Regions from separate parts of the Homo sapiens genome. Here all the other regions are linked to region 3. Evidence: promoter capture Hi-C in 16 types of primary human blood cells and fetal thymus (Javierre and others, 2016). All regions are on one chromosome and are shown on one strand. Each heading gives the region's core, a stretch centred on a gene start or on the middle of the fragment in contact. The rest is flanking DNA. Distances are from core to core; before and after follow the strand shown. Region 1 has its middle 32 kb from the start of CRP. Region 2 has its middle 13 kb from the start of CRP. Region 3 holds the start of OR10J5 (olfactory receptor family 10 subfamily J member 5).

The links. Contacts are between HindIII fragments. The CHiCAGO score rates a contact against its expected background, and 5 or more counts as called.
Region 1: a fragment that was not itself captured here is called in contact with the fragment with the promoter of OR10J5 in region 3 in 1 of 17 cell types (neutrophils); the score reaches 5.6 in neutrophils.
Region 2: a contact is called between a fragment that was not itself captured here and the fragment with the promoter of OR10J5 in region 3, in 1 of 17 cell types (neutrophils). The highest score is 5.8, in neutrophils.

The regions. Positions count from the first base shown.
Region 1 is chr1:159,745,114-159,747,813 of GRCh38, reverse strand. No RefSeq gene overlaps it. Among named protein-coding and RNA genes, the nearest start is that of CRP, 32 kb to the right of the region's middle. The HindIII fragment of the contact is 6,050 bases long and covers 1-2,700 here.
Region 2 is chr1:159,700,658-159,703,489 of GRCh38, reverse strand. No RefSeq gene overlaps it. Among named protein-coding and RNA genes, the nearest start is that of CRP, 13 kb to the left of the region's middle. The HindIII fragment of the contact is 2,054 bases long and covers 315-2,368 here.
Region 3 is chr1:159,534,706-159,537,509 of GRCh38, reverse strand. OR10J5 (olfactory receptor family 10 subfamily J member 5) reads left to right here and starts at 1,503. Exons shown (of 1, transcript NM_001004469.1): 1 at 1,503-2,432. The coding sequence starts at 1,503. The coding sequence ends at 2,432. The HindIII fragment of the contact is 5,281 bases long and covers 1-2,693 here.

The DNA.
Region 1 (2,700 bases), core at 131-2,630, 210 kb before region 3:
GCACTCCTTCAGTGGGGACTTCATGAAGAACTAGTTTATGAAAGGAGATAATGTAGATACTAGCAGGAGAGGCATTGTGTTGTCACAGAAGAATTAACACTATCCATGTGGTGGGGCCTTCAGTCCTAGTGTCCTGGGCTGGTGGGTGCTGATGAAGTATTTCCCAAACCCCAGATGTGGCACTGGGGTCCAGAGCAAGGTCCCCATGTTGCCTCCTGGGGATGCCCCTCCTATTTGTCTCAGGTCCTGGCACTATAGCAGTGCTGTCTACACGGAGGCGCTGGCTCTGTCTGCTCTCTTTCTATCCAGGAACACTTCAGGGGATCTAAGCAAGTTCTTGAGAGGAATGAGCTTCATTAAGAGGGTTTGACCAGTAGAAATAAGAAAATTATAGGATTTTTAAAACCAAAGAAGTCCTCAGAAACCTTATAATTGAAAGCTCTTGTTTTATAGAAGACAACAGAGGCTCAGAGAGGTTAAGTGACTTGCTGAGGCTTTTGCAGCAAAACAGTACCTGTGTGAGGATGATAATGCAGGTTTCTTGATTTCTAATTAAATGCTCTTTCCTACTGAATCTTTTTGTAATCAGGAGGAAGACAGGCTTTTGATGATTATAAGAGGGTTAGGGCAAATTCAAGAATTACCTGATTTATTATCTGGCAGTAGTAGCCATTTTAAAAGAAAATGGCTCTGAGATAGTTTTCAAAAATGATTGGGGTCACAAAAATGCACGTATAAATTGTAATGTCCCTGTCTACCTCTCCCAGTGCTCTTCATTTCTCTTCCTGTTTATGATCTCACCTTCTTAATAAACTGAAGAGCACAAGGAAATACCCATAAGAACCTCCCTTGCATGATGACCTTTCTTCTTCTCCTTTTATTTTGGTTCATAGACATGGGTTCTAACGAAAGCTCAGAAAGGAAGAGAATAGTAAGGCACATTTTCTTTATCTTAATCTCTGCTAACTGATTTCCTTTGTGGCCGGGGAATATGGGCCTGGGCTTATTTCCAAGGCTATGTGTAACCAAGAACTAGAAATGGAAATCTTAGCATGTGTTCAACAGTTTTCTTCTTTTATTTTTAAGTATAATCTATTTAAAAGTATAATTCAAATAAACTCAACTAGCATACGAAATTATAATATTAATGCACATTTTCACCCAGTAGTGTATTGAAGGTGACCCATATGGGCTCACAAGAATGAATTGTTATTCAGTAATTATTAGGAGCCTGTTAAATCATCTGTGGGTTGAAATTAGACATAGTGGTATAGAGCACTTACACCATGGAAATCAGTAAATGCTATAAATCAGGACCTTTTCTTTTTTTTAAATCAGTGAGCCAGCTTGCCAGCACAATACATTTGGTGTAGAGAATTTCCACTGCTCAGAAGTAATCACTGTTAATTTTCGAAGTAAACTTCTAGAAAAATGATTATTTACATACTAGTGCATATGCATGTATTATTTTAATTCATTTATAGAAAAGAATCGTTTTAGAAAGTGTCTTGAGATCTTTCCATGTCAACACATGTAGATCTAATTCACTATTTAAAATTACTGTATAGTAAGTTATTATATGTTATGCCATAATTTATTTAACCAATTTCTTAATGATGAATGTCCTTCTTTGAGTTTCTACAAAAGTAGGCCCTGAGACATGGGCTTGGGTACAGACAGTTTATTTTAATTTATTTTATTATTTATTTATTTATTTATTTTGAGATGGAGTTTCACTCTTGTTGCCCAGGCTGGAGTGCAATGGTGCGATCTTGGCTCACTGCAACCTCTGCCTCCCAGGTTCAAGCAATTCTCCTGTTTCAGCCTCCTGAGTAGCTGGGATTACAGGTGCAAGCCACCACTCCCAGCTAATTTTTGTATTTTTAGTAGAGATGGGGTTTCATCATATTGGTCAGGCTGGTCTCGAACTCCTGACCTCAGGTGATCCGCCCGCCTCCACCTCGGAAAGTGCTGAGATTACAGGCATGAGCCACTGTGCCCCGCCAGACAGTTTATTTGGCCTGAGAACCCAGGAAGCACAAGTGAGACACTGAGTAAAGTGAGACAGGGAATTTTACTTCTCTAAATCAGGGTCCAAAAAAGGTCCTCACATTTCATAGGTTTATATGTCTCCTAAATCACCTTTAATTTACTCCCCATTTGTCACTTATTTTCCTTGAAATTTATGGAGAAAACTGGGTCATTTTACTGATTGGATCTCCATGACATCATTTAACATGCTCCCATAAATTATCGTTGAATCTCAAGGTAAAATTTTTCCCAGTTCAATAAATGTAATAAAATAATGATATTGATTGTTAAGCTCCATTTATTTTTATTCACACTATTTTTATAATAGATTTTATGTTTTAGAACAGTTTTAGATTTACACAAAAATTGAGAACTTAGTACAGAGATTTCCCACATACCCCCTCAGCCCCTCCTTCTGACAATTTCACCTCTCCTGAACATTTTACTTTAGTATGGTACATTTGTTACAGTGAGTGAATCAAAACTGATACAATGTTATGAATTAAAGTCTGTAGTTTATTAAGATTTCCTTAGTTTTTACTTAGTATCCCTTTTCTGTTCCAGAATGACATTCAGCATACCACATTACATGTAGTTGTCAAGTTTCCTTAAGTCTCTCTTGGCTGTGACTGTTTCTCAGGCTTTCCCGAGAAAGCCTGTCACCCAGGC
Region 2 (2,832 bases), core at 92-2,591, 170 kb before region 3:
TGTTAGAAGCAGATGCCAGCACTATGCTTCCTGTACAGCCTGAAGACTGAAGCCAATTAAGCCCCTTGTCTTTATAAATTACCCAGCCTCAGGTATTCCTTTATGGCAATGCAAAACAGACTAACACACTCCCCACCTCCACCAATTTCTGATTGTCACAGACTCTCCCAGGTGCACTTTTTCGTATTTGTGTCTTTACGTCTCTCTTAAAAGGATGACTCAGAATGCTGGGGAAGACACAGTTAACAATACCAGCAGCATCAGACAAGATCAGGTCTTGAGTTCTTTTGGAGAGGGCGATAGTCTGGGAAGCTTTCCTTTCCTCTGTCTGGCTTCTCTCCTTGAGACTAGTGGCATGTCCCATGTCTGATATCCATTGGTTTCCACCAAAGAGGTCCAAGGTCACCTACGCATGACATCTATCTCTGGGGCTCTGGGACTTTTCCCTCTTCACTAGGTATGAAGCAAGTGGAGATTCTCATTGCAGTTCTGTCCTGAAGCGTAGATCTTCAGGGGAAAATGTTTTAGGAAGGCCATGTTCACTTGAGATCTGAGCTGGGTCCTTCAAATCAAGCATTGCTAGCCACAAGGCTGATGTGATTTTTATTCAAGTATTTATTTCTCAGTTTATTCTAAACAGGCAAAGAGGTGATATTGTTTCCTCAAAACTCTAAGAGTACCATGAAGAGAGAGGGAAGCTCCTCTATGGAGAGATTCTCACCTGCAAACAGCCAGGGTGGAGCCTGGGCAGGACTTCAGACTTGTAAGAGGAATAACAGTGTAGCGGGCAGTCTCTCACAGATAGCACAAAGAGTCTTTCCTCATCAGGGATGGGTTTACTTTTAGAATCAGGGCAGACTTGTCCTGGAGCTCCAACTCTAAAAGCTGTGAAGTTCTGCAGGAGCTGGGGCAGGCTCATTTCAAAACAAACTGAGTCCTGATACATGGAATCTTTGGCCTTTGTATTGTTGATGCCTGGGTCTGAAAGTCAGAAATAGATCCTGTTCCTCTCTATGCTTTACTCATGTTTGGGGTCAAAGAGGGACTTTGAAGGCATAATCTGTACATTTATATGCCTCATTTACAGTTTCTTAAAGCCTACCTTTCCTCTCCACCCCTGTTACTCAACCGAACTTGGGTCTGCCCATTTGGTGCAGCAAAGCCAAATGCTGACAACAGGATTTGCAGTGAGAGAAAGTGAAGTCTTTATTGCAAGATGCCAAACAAGGAGAATCTGAGACCCAAACATCCTGATGACTTACATGGAAGGGTTTTTAAAGGCAGGGAGGCAGAGATTACAGGCAAAGTCATAAATCAACACATGGAGGCCATACAGTGGTTTGGCCTATAAAGGGGGGCATCTCAAGTTGGGAGGGCCAAAGATCATAGGTGGATTCAAAAATTTTCTGATATGTGATTGGTTAAGATTTGTCTAAAAACTTGGGATCAGCAGAAATATTGAGCTCTGGCCTATGGGCATGACCTTCTTCAGGCCTCTCAGGAAGAAATTTAGAACAAAGAACAGCAGTCAGTGTTCAGTCCTCAGTTCCCCACTATCTGAGGTCATCTGAGGAAGATAGCATTTTCCATCCACTGGCACAGAGATCTCAGATAATGGCATTAGGTCAGGGGTCGGGTTTCTGAAAAACAACTCAGGAACATATATTAGGATGTTATTTTTAGTTTCTGTAGGGGAACCAAACATCCTATGATTCTAATTTCCTTGGCTATTGCTTTAAGCTACTATTACCTTCTTGCTTATCAGGTGGCTTATTTATTCTCCGGGCTAGCTAGGTACCTGGAATTTCCCTTGAAGGAGCTCAAGATTTTCCTTTATTTCCGTGCATGGGTGAGGGATGTGGGCTGGCAGGCTTCTAAGTGGGGTCCCTGCTCCATCTCACCCTCAAGGGTTAAGATAGCCAGACTAACTGAGTTCAGGTCCTGGTTTCATCTTATAATGGCTGGGTGACCTTAGGTAAATGACTTAAATGCTGTATTCTTCAGGTTTCCTCGTCTTTTAAATGGGGGATAGTATAGGGCCCATTTCACTGCACAAGCTAGTGCTTAATGCATGTTATCTATGCTTTATGACTAATATTATTGCTGGTGATCATGATTTCAATTACCCAGGCTCTGGGTCAGAGCCTCAGTATGGTGAAGGGATCCATCAATGGGTAGATAATGAAGAAGGGACACCTGATTGTATGGGGAGAATGCGTCAGCTTGGACTGAAAAAAAATCGTAGAAATTATCACAAAGTTAAAGCATAAGGGGAGAATTTGAAAGGCCTATATCTAGAATGTTGTGGCTACAGGAAATAGGTTGATTCAGACACTGACAGAAGAGTCAGTGAGAGGGTAAAGAAGCTTCAGAATTTGGCATGTACTCAGAAAACTCTCATTCAGATTTTTAGGAGGACATCAGAAACGCATGGAGGATCAAAATCCACTTAAAAGGCCTTATTCTACCTCAAAAGAACAGGAAATGGAAAAGGAAAGGAAGATACTGTGATCTGACCACATCGGCCCTACAGGGGGTAAGAGGAGCAGGATCTGGCCGGGTGTGGTGGCTCATGCCTGTAATCCCAGCACTTTGGGAGGCCAAAGCAGGCAGATCACTTGAGGCCAGGAGTTCGAGACCAGCCTGGGCAACATGGCGAAACCCCATCTCTACCAAAAAAATAAAAAAAAATTAGCCAGGCATGGTGATGCACACCTGTAATCCCAGCTCCTCAGGAGGCTGAGGCATGAGAATCGCTTGAATCTAGGAGGTGGAGTTTGCAGGGAGCCGAGTTTGCGCCACTGCACTGCAGTCTGGGTGACAGAGTGAGAC
Region 3 (2,804 bases), core at 254-2,753:
AGTTTGCTTTCAAAAATATGAAATTTATTATGATTGCAAGAAACATTAATAGAGAAGCCAAGAGGGAGGTAAGCTGGAGACTTGGGAAAAAGATTGGTGATGAAAATAGAGATTTGAGAACAATCATCATAAAAATCGCACACACAAGGGCTAAGGATGTACCAGAGAAGAGCATACGTAATTATGGTAGAGGGAGAATGAGCAGATTCATGGAAGGTAACGAAATGAGTGCTGGGAAGAGAGAAAAACAGTGTGGTTTCATGGAAACCAAGGTCAGAGAATGTTTCCATGAGGTAGGAGTTCGAAGTGTTTAAACAGAGAAAGATGAGAAAAAGGAGATAAAACAAAGTCCAGTGGCCTTAGCAATGGAGAATTCTTTGGTGACATTTGAGCAAACAATCTCATGGGCATGAACATGCCAAAGCCAACTTGCAGGGAATTATGGAGAGTGGGAAAGAAAGCCTGTTTTAATACTTCTGAAAATAAAGGGAGAACAATAAGATGGTCACTAAAGAGAACCATAGGATCAGATATATGCTCTCCATACAGTTTATACATGCTTGCTTTTTGACAAAAGGGATTAGTGTCTCTGCTTCTCAAAATTGTATGTTCACCATATTTTTAAAAATAGTTAAGCCAGTTGGGCTACAGATAGCTGCAGATTTCTCTCTCAACTCCGGAGTCTCTTCTACACCTCAAGTTGTCCCAGTCCTTTATAATGACAGTGGCAACTACACAACGTTTTCTGTCACAGCTCTCTCTTCCTGACTTCACTCAAAAGGCCTACTAGAATCAGCAAAAAAAAAAAAAAAAAAAGATTTCTTTGATGGGACTTGAGTGATCAATTTTAGTAGAGAGATAATGGCAGAATTTGTGTTGTAGTTGTTCTGTTTTGAGAGTACAATAACATATTTGGACCACATTACCTCTCCAAAATCAAGTTTCTATATTCATAATTCAACTGAAACACTGTGTAAAAGCTCCTTGGTGACCCTGTTATGAAATCCAGTGACCACGTCTCAAAGTTTTCCGTCTTCAAATATTTCAAACTGCTATATCTTTTTTTTTTTTTTTTGCAAAACTTTCATCTTTATGGTTTTCTTGACATGGGCTTCACTGGAGTCCTCCTTGTTAAGAGGGTTTAAAGAGTGGATATTATTATTGGTTGAAATATAGAGCATGGCTTTCTCCTTGCTGTCTTTTTCCCTTCCTAACATCACTATAATGTCTGTGAGGTGAGCAGGCATGCAGAAGCCCTCTCCATGCGCAGAAAGTAATTTGCTCCACAGTGACAATGTTCATATGTATAAAGCCCCAAAGAGGCACAAGTAGGCTTCTCTCTTCATGTGCAAGGACCCTGCATGAGCATCATGATCAAAAAGAAGGAAATTGGATTCAGTCTCAGTACAATTATCATTTTTCTTTGTTTTAAAGTCCAATTGCTGTTGAGAATTTACTCCTTGTTGACTCCATTTGTTGCTTTCAGACACTGATATAGCAGAATGAAGAGAAAGAACTTCACAGAAGTGTCAGAATTCATTTTCTTGGGATTTTCTAGCTTTGGAAAGCATCAGATAACCCTCTTTGTGGTTTTCCTAACTGTCTACATTTTAACTCTGGTTGCTAACATCATCATTGTGACTATCATCTGCATTGACCATCATCTCCACACTCCCATGTATTTCTTCCTAAGCATGCTGGCTAGTTCAGAGACGGTGTACACACTGGTCATTGTGCCACGAATGCTTTTGAGCCTCATTTTTCATAACCAACCTATCTCCTTGGCAGGCTGTGCTACACAAATGTTCTTTTTTGTTATCTTGGCCACTAATAATTGCTTCCTGCTTACTGCAATGGGGTATGACCGCTATGTGGCCATCTGCAGACCCCTGAGATACACTGTCATCATGAGCAAGGGACTATGTGCCCAGCTGGTGTGTGGGTCCTTTGGCATTGGTCTGACTATGGCAGTTCTCCATGTGACAGCCATGTTCAATTTGCCGTTCTGTGGCACAGTGGTAGACCACTTCTTTTGTGACATTTACCCAGTCATGAAACTTTCTTGCATTGATACCACTATCAATGAGATAATAAATTATGGTGTAAGTTCATTTGTGATTTTTGTGCCCATAGGCCTGATATTTATCTCCTATGTCCTTGTCATCTCTTCCATCCTTCAAATTGCCTCAGCTGAGGGCCGGAAGAAGACCTTTGCCACCTGTGTCTCCCACCTCACTGTGGTTATTGTCCACTGTGGCTGTGCCTCCATTGCCTACCTCAAGCCGAAGTCAGAAAGTTCAATAGAAAAAGACCTTGTTCTCTCAGTGACGTACACCATCATCACTCCCTTGCTGAACCCTGTTGTTTACAGTCTGAGAAACAAGGAGGTAAAGGATGCCCTATGCAGAGTTGTGGGCAGAAATATTTCTTAATGGATTGGATTATTTCATTAAGAGACCATTAGCCCAGTGTAGTGTGTCTACTCACAAACATGCCACAATACACAAATTCATCAAATATAATATTTGTTGAGAATACTGTCAAAGAATAGAAATGCTTGTCTGTTTAGTGTTCTAGGCATGGCAGAAAGCAGGATTTCTGCTCTGGTGAATTTTGTTACCAGATACAAGAATCACTCCAAGCTGGATTAAGACTACTTGTTTCTGTGCTTGAAGATTTCAGTTTTGAAAGCTTTTTGGCTCCCATTTTACCTGAACTCTCTGACAGTCAAATCTTTGAGCTTGTCTGGTTAGGGGATGTGGAGTAGAGACAGTGGGAACATAGGTGGCAGCGGTGTTAGGGAA